2 separate regions of the Homo sapiens genome follow, and region 2 is linked to region 1. Evidence: promoter capture Hi-C in 16 types of primary human blood cells and fetal thymus (Javierre and others, 2016). All regions are on one chromosome and are shown on one strand. The core of a region is centred on a gene start or on the middle of the fragment in contact, and the rest is flanking DNA. Distances in the headings are between cores, read along the strand shown. Region 1 holds the start of ZNF142 (zinc finger protein 142). Region 2 overlaps LOC105373883 (a long non-coding RNA gene).

What was found. The method cuts DNA at HindIII sites, captures the fragments that hold promoters and counts their contacts. A CHiCAGO score of 5 or more calls a contact.
Region 2: a fragment that was not itself captured here is called in contact with the fragment with the promoter of ZNF142 in region 1 in 1 of 17 cell types (total B cells); the score reaches 5.7 in total B cells.

What each region holds. Positions count from the first base shown.
Region 1 is chr2:218,656,949-218,660,872 of GRCh38, reverse strand. ZNF142 (zinc finger protein 142) reads left to right here and starts at 1,250. Exons shown (of 11, transcript NM_001379659.1): 1 at 1,250-1,504; 2 at 1,743-1,893; 3 at 1,997-2,172. BCS1L (BCS1 ubiquinol-cytochrome c reductase complex chaperone) reads right to left here and starts at 1,190. Exons shown (of 8, transcript NM_001079866.2): 1 at 1,130-1,190. RefSeq lists enhancers at 1,067-1,196, 2,007-2,126. The HindIII fragment of the contact is 10,571 bases long and covers 1-2,141 here.
Region 2 is chr2:219,361,937-219,365,494 of GRCh38, reverse strand. It overlaps LOC105373883 (a long non-coding RNA gene), which reads left to right. Exons shown (of 2, transcript XR_923917.3): 2 at 2,687-2,993. Among named protein-coding and RNA genes, the nearest start is that of DNPEP, 24 kb to the left of the region's middle. RefSeq lists an enhancer at 2,883-2,932. The HindIII fragment of the contact is 1,677 bases long and covers 1,320-2,996 here.

The DNA of each region.
Region 1 (3,924 bases), core at 1-2,500:
CCACAGGTCAGCATTACTGTGTGGGTCAATACCCTCCTTTTGTGGGGTAAGGGTGGTATTGGAATGCAAGGGTGGAGGCTCCAGGTCCCTCATCCCATTTTGTCCTTCATTAGTCTACTCATACCTGTTTCCTACCAGAGGACCATGTCTGGAGATGCCTTAAACCAAAAAGAGCTATATAAACAGGCTTCACATCAGGGTAATGGATGGACAGGATTTTTGTGGTCCCTGGGACCAGCTATGATAAAAAGGGGTCCATTGGCTGCAGTCAGCAAGGGAGAAGCGTCCGTTGACTTGTCAGTAACCCTATGTCTTGTTATGAGTAATGTCCTTCAAATATCCTCCCCCTTACGTCCCCAATATTTAACGTCTTGTTTAGACCTTTATTACCTCCCACCTAAACTGTCTTTAAAATCGTAGTTCTTGAAATGGCATTTTAATAGGTCTTCACCTCCTGCTTCACGGAACATCTACACAAGGGTCCAGATCTTTCATCATAGGGATCAGCTCCAATACCATATCTCTCTCTGCTCCAGCACCTTCAATGGCTGGCTCCCAGCAGACCCCTGAATTGGGTATAAACTCAGCCTGGTACTCAAGGCTCTCTACAATACGGCGCCCACCTACCTTTCATGGATTAGCTCCTAACACTACCTGTTTAGCAAATATGCAAATACGCAACAAATATGTTCAACAAGTAAGCAACCTCCCAACTCCTTGCTCATGCAGTGCTCTTGGCTCGGAATGCCCGTTCTTTTCTCCCTCATTCTCCCCAAATGAAAATCTGCCCATCTGCTACTTTCTCCACGGATCGTCACATCGTAGACAATAAGATCCTGAGGGACAAGAGCAAAGTTGTTTCTAGTACACCTCTCCTCCAACCCCGAACCCCGGCCACTTTGCCCTGCGCCTGGCATGCAGGGAGGTGAGCTGACAGCAGTGACCTCGGCTGAGCCTCAGAACTGGGATCCAGAATTCCAAAACACCTATGCATGGAAGGCCACAGACAAAGCTCTCCCGTCCCCGGCCCCTCCGCGACACCCAGGAACCCCCTCCTGAACCTCGCCCACACCCCAGCTCGCGCCTCCAGCCACATGGTTTGGGGTAACCCGTCACTCAGCCCTCTCACCGCCGTGACTCTCTGGCCCTCCGTCTCGATGGTTTCACCGCGCCTGCACCTTGGGGAAGCTGCGTTCGGCCCCGCCCCGGGTCCTTTCATCTACTTCCCGCCACACCCACAGAGAAGCCCACGCCACTCTACCCCAGAGCTCTCGATGGTGCTTCTCCGGCTTCAGGGCTGGAGTGGGGGTGGAGGGCGGGAAAAACCACAGAGACAAAACATAGAGTACCCCGGCAGCCGGCAAGAGGAAGAGAGAGTGGCTTCCACATCCCCAATATCCTAGAGGCGGCTGAGCCGGAGGCGGTCGCACAAAGCGGGCCCCGGGGGCCGTTCCAGCCGCGGCCGACCATAGAGATGCGGCTCCCGCCGGCTCTGGGTCTGGAGGTGAGTGAGCGGCTGCGGGGCGGAACTGGGAAGGGAATGCGGGTGGAGCGAGCTGGAGGCAAAGTTTTTCGAGCCCCGGGATCAGGGTGGGCCTGGGCGCTGGGAACTCTCGGAAGGAGGTACTGAAGGGAGCACCCAGACGAGCTGGGCCCCGGCGCTGCAGTCGCGTCACGGTTCTGGACCCCGCCCGGGTACCTGCTGCTCTCAGGACAAAATCATGACGATGCTCCATCCCAAGCCTTCCAGGTTACAAACCGCCTTTCCAGTTCGCTGGCTCTTATGATCCAGCTCCTGCCCGACGATGTGGACACTGTCATCACCTCCATTTTACAGATAGGAAAGCTGAGGCCCAGAGAAGCGAAGCGACTGTGTCTGTCCAAGACCACGCGGTGAGTCAGAGCCAGAGGCAGGTGGGAACCTGGGTCGCTAGGCCGGGGCCCGTTGTTTCTCCAGGCCTTCTCTCTGCCTTAGTCTGTCCTTTCTCTTCCTCAGCCCTCCTGCCCGGAAGATAAGCGTATTTCTTCTCTGGTGCCCACCTGTCTCCTACCTCACCCTGCCCTCCCGCAGGTGAAGGTTCTTAATCTTGACGGCTCAGCGTCCTCCTTGGCTCCCCCCGGAGGCCATGTATGGTCAAGCTTGAAGATTCCCCAGAACAGCGATAATATTCAGTAAGTGGAGGCTGCAGTTTCCAGAGAATCCCTCTGACCACGGGAGTGCACTTTCCAGCCACCTTGTGAATCCCTGTGATCTGTTGTTTTGAGTCCATGGGATTCTGGAAATAGGGACTATCAGATTGCAGGATCTTGGTTTTTGTTTGTTTTTTTTTTGAGACGGAGTTTCGCTCTTGTTGCCCAAGCTGGGGTGCAATGGTGCGATCTCGGCTCACTGCAACCTCCGCCTCCCGGGTTCCAGCGATTCTCCTGCCTCAGCCTCCCGAGTAGCTGGGATTACAGGCGTGTGCCACCACACCCTGCTGATTTTTTGTATTTTTAGTAGAAACAGGGTTTCACAATGTTCGCCAGGCTGGTCTCGAACTTCTGACCTCAGGTGATCGGCCCGCCTTGGCCTCCCAAAGTGCTGGGATTACAGGCCTGAGCCACCGCGCCCGGCCTGGTTTCTTCTTCTTTTTTTCTTTTTGCATCTTGTCTGTGACTCAATTTCATGAAGTGATTCCCATCATTCTTATTAATTACTAATTATTCAGCTTAAACTCATTTTAGCCATGTATAACAGGGTATGCAATTCAATTGTCATTCATTCCTCAGTTATGTTCCCATATTTAGTTTGAGGCCATAGTCAGTTAATGAGTTTGAAATTTCTCCAAATGTGTTACGTTATAGGTGAGGAACCACTGGTTTTGTACAAGATACCTAGCTTTACTCCAATGCAGCTCCATATCTGTGGTTCTTCACTGGAATCTTCGATTGTGGGTGATTTGTGTTCGTTGAAGTGATAATGTCAGTATCACAAAGTAATATCATTGAAGTGATAATGTCAACAAATTACTAAAAAAGCTATACATCTAGGGAGAGAGACTGACAGGTAAACAACAGTGCAGTGTGACCTCGTTTCTGATAGGGCTGTGTACAGAGTGCCCTTAGGACGCCAGAAGAGAGAAGATAAGAGTTTCGGGAAGCCAGGCCCGGCGCGGTGCCTCACGCCTGTAATCCCAGCACTTTGGGAGGCCGAGGCAGGTGGATCACCTGAGTTCTGGAGTTCAAGACCAGCCCAACCAACATGGAGAAACCCCATCTCTACTAAAAATACAAAATAGTAGCCAGGCGTGGTGGTACATGCCTGTAATCCCAGCTACTCAGGAGGCTGAGGCAGGAGAATCGCTTGAACCCAGGAGGCAGAGGTTGTAGTGAGCTGAGATCGTGCCACTGCCCTCCAGCCTAGGTGACAGACTAAGACTGTCTCAAAAAAAAGAATGTCAGGAGGCCTTCATGGTGGAAGTGACATTTGTGCAGCTTCTTCAAGGATAGTTAATTGGTTAGCCAGATAAGAGAGAGAGATTGAGAAGGGGAAAAGGCATATCAAGCCAAGAGACGCAAAAGGCTGTGAGGGTATGAAAGCAAAAGAGAATGTGGTGGGTCTGGAGAATGGCACATCATCTGGTTCAGAGATCTGCTGAGGGGAGAAGTGGGAGATGAGTCAGGGGAGGTCAGCAGGAGCCAGATGATGAAGGAAGGGCCTTCCTTATAATCCATGCTGAGGAATAGTGAGATTATCAAAGGTTAAGAGGGAAAGGGACCAGGCAAGGTGGCTCACGCCTATAATCCCAGCACTTTGGGAGGCCAAAACGGGCAGATCACCCAAGGTCAGAAGTTCGAGACCAGCCTGGCCAACATGGTGAAACTCCATCGCTGTTAAAAATACAAAATTTACCTGGGCGTGTGTGGCACATGCCTGTAGTCCAG
Region 2 (3,558 bases), core at 909-3,408, 700 kb before region 1:
TGTATATTTTATTCTTAGTTTAGATTTATAGTTTTATAACCTTAAACATCTAGTTGATATAACATTGTTTGACCAGTAAACCCAGGTAAAATAAAATTGTAGTTCTGCATTCTATTTAATGCTGACAACTCCAAAGACATTTCTGCTTTTATTTTATCAACAATTTTTTTTTTTTTTTTTTTTTTTTTTTTTTTTTTTTTTTACAGAGCCTGGCTCTGTCACCCAGGCTGGAGTGCAATGGAATGGAGCCATCTTGGCTTACTGCAACCTCCGCCTCCTGAGTTCAAGTGATTCTCCTGCCTCAGCCTCCTGAGTAGCTGGGATTACAGGTGTGTACCACCACGCCCAGCTAATTTTTGTATTTTTAGTAGAGGCGGAGTTTCACCATGTTGGTCAGGCTGGTCTTGAACTCCTGACCTTGTGATCAACCTGCCTCGGCCTCCCAAAGTGCTAGGATTACAGGCGTGAGCCACTGTACCTGGCTTTTTTTTTTTTTAATCTATATAAACAAGGTCTCACTCTGCTGCCCAGACTGGATTGCAGTGGTGTGAACACAGCTCACTGCAGCCTTGAACTTCTAAGCTCAAGGGATTCACCTGCCTCAGCCTCCCAACTAGCTGGGATTACAGGCGCCTGCCACCACGCCAGTCTAATTTTTTGTATTTTTAGTAGAGGCGGGGTTTCACCATGTTGGCCAGGCTTATCTTGAACTCCTGACCTCAAGTGATCCACCCACCTCGGCCTCCCAAAGTGCGGGGATTACAGGCGTGAGCCCCTAAGCCCGGCCTACTTTTTAAACTTTTTGTAAAGACCAAGTCTCAGTATGTTGTCCAAGCTGGTTTCAAACTCCTGGGCGCAAGTAATGCTCCTGTCTCAGCCTCCCAAAGCACTGGGATTAGGGGTGTGAGCCACTGCGCCCAGCCTGCCAACAATCTTAAAACTAATTTTATTTACCCAAAAGACTTAACAAGGCCCATGTGTTCAGATTCCTGTCTGTGTCCCCATCTTTGGAGGAAGGACACCTTTCACATGGGGAAAGGATCAGGGAGATCCCTTCAGGAGAGAAGGATCAGGGAAGTCAGAGAGATTGTCCTGCACATGCTGTTTCTCAGATCCTTCCAGCTTAAAATATTCAACATGCCAGTGTGCCATGTTTCTGGGTGGCATGTCCTGAACCCTCTTATTGGATAGTATAAATGGCTATTCACTCTGAAAATCTGTTGAGCTGTATCTTTACATTCTGTCTACTTCTGTTCATATGTATTACCTTTCATAATCAAAAGGTAAAAATACTTTTTTTAAAAAAAAGCATAAAAGCTTCTAAACACAAAAGTTGGTGTCAGAAATATTCTAAATGGAAAGAGGAAAAGAGTGGCTCCTAAGATGACTGGATTATTAGAAGTAAAGAAATGCCCTCCCTTCTTGCCCAATAAACTCCAGAAGCTCCCAGAGTGGCCCTAGGCGAGAAGAGATGAGAGGGAGGGTCAGCCGTGCTCTCCAGGGAAATCCCCTTGTTTTCCCCAGGCCAGCCCCAAAGGGGCACTAGTCTACACTGAACTCTCAACTTCCAGGCAATAGAGACCACCCTTTCTCTGCTGCTTTATTTGACAGCTTAGGAAAGACTGAAATGTTCAAACAAAAATGAACAACAACAGAAAGCCTTGACAAAGGAAAGCCAGATGCAGAGGACCATGGATCCACATATCCTAAATGCAAGGGAGAGCCTGCTCTCCAGGCTCCAGAGCCTTCCACTCATGGGCTACCCCAGGAATAATAGGGACTCCTCCCTGAGTCTCCCCACTCCTGACTCCAGGCTTTCCTCCCACAGCAGGTGACATTCCTAAGTTTGTATGCATGTGCCAGCACACATTTATATATACAAGTGCAATATGTACATAGTAATGCACACACATATTCTCAAACCTACACACATACACCTCACACACATACATAAACGTAACATATATACACCTACACACACATAAACAGACACATGCGGACTTACACATGGACATCTATACAGAAACACACACATGTAAGCATACATGCACACACACAACACAGGTGCACATGCACATACAATGTTTGCAAACATATACAGCCACAGGCATAGACACACATATACACCTGGATACATATACAAACCCATCACACATGCATACATATGCTCATTCACATACTACAAATACATACAAAAAGGCATACACATATATGCACACATGCACAACATACAAACACAGAGACATGCATGTAGGCATAATACATGCATGCATACTCGTGCGCAAAAAACACACATGTGCAATACACAGATACATATACATAAATGCATGCATACACATATGCAGACAATACATAGATACATGTCACACAAACATATTGCTATATATCCATATATACATATGCAAAAACATACACATATATACACAAACACACACATCTTTATGTACACACCCACAAACACACACCCCACATACCCACACGCACATACTGCATGTGATAGCCATCCTACAAGATGACCTCCAGTGATCCTTACCTCTTGGAATTCATGCCTTTGTGTAGTCCCTCCCACAGTGTATCAGGGTTGGTCTCTGTGGCCAGTATAATATGGCAGAAATGATGGCATGGGACTTCCAAAGCTAGGTTTTAAAAACACTGTGGCTTTTGCCTGGTTCTCTCTCTCTCTCAGGTCACTCACTCCAGAGGAAGCCAGCTGCTGTGTCATGAGGCACTCAAGCAGCCATATGGAGAGGCTGATGTGGTAGGGAACTGAGACCTCCTGCCAACAGCCAGCATCGTCTTGCCAGGAGGGTGAGTCATCTTGAAAGTGGATCCTCTAGCCCCACGCAAGCCTTCAGAAGACTACAGCCAACCCTGAGTAACATCTTCACTGCAACTTCAAGAGAGACCCTGAACCAAAAATACCCAGCTAAGCCTCTCTCAGATTCCCAGTCCACAGAAACTGTGAAATAGATGTTTATAGTTTAAGCGACTAAGCTTTGGGGTAATTTGTCATGTAGCAATAAGCCATAGATATTCTTTGCTAAAACTGGATTTTTAAAAAAAGTAATAGACAATGAATACAAGTACACTACATGTACACATATACACATTGACACACACATCCCATCTACATACACAAATACATCTCCCACACATACAAACCTACATACGCACACACAAACACACATGCATACAGTACACATTGATTCATACAAACACATGCACACACATATAAACACATGGACACAACACCCATGCACAAACATATAAACACATGTATACACATATAAACACATGTACGCATGCGCAAGTCCCGAGAACCCACTTCTAGAGTCTTTGGGCTCTTCACCATCTAGATGCCCACCTGGGGCTCCCCATAGAGCTCTGACCCATCTCGGAGGAGCTGCCTCTTCTCTCTCTTTTTTTTTTTTTTTTTGAGATGGAGTTTTGCTCTGTCACCCAGGCTGGAATGCAGTGGCACAATCTCTGCTCACTGCAACCTCTGCCTCCCGGGTTCAAGCAATTCTTCTGCCTCAGCCTCCAGAGTAGCTGGGACTA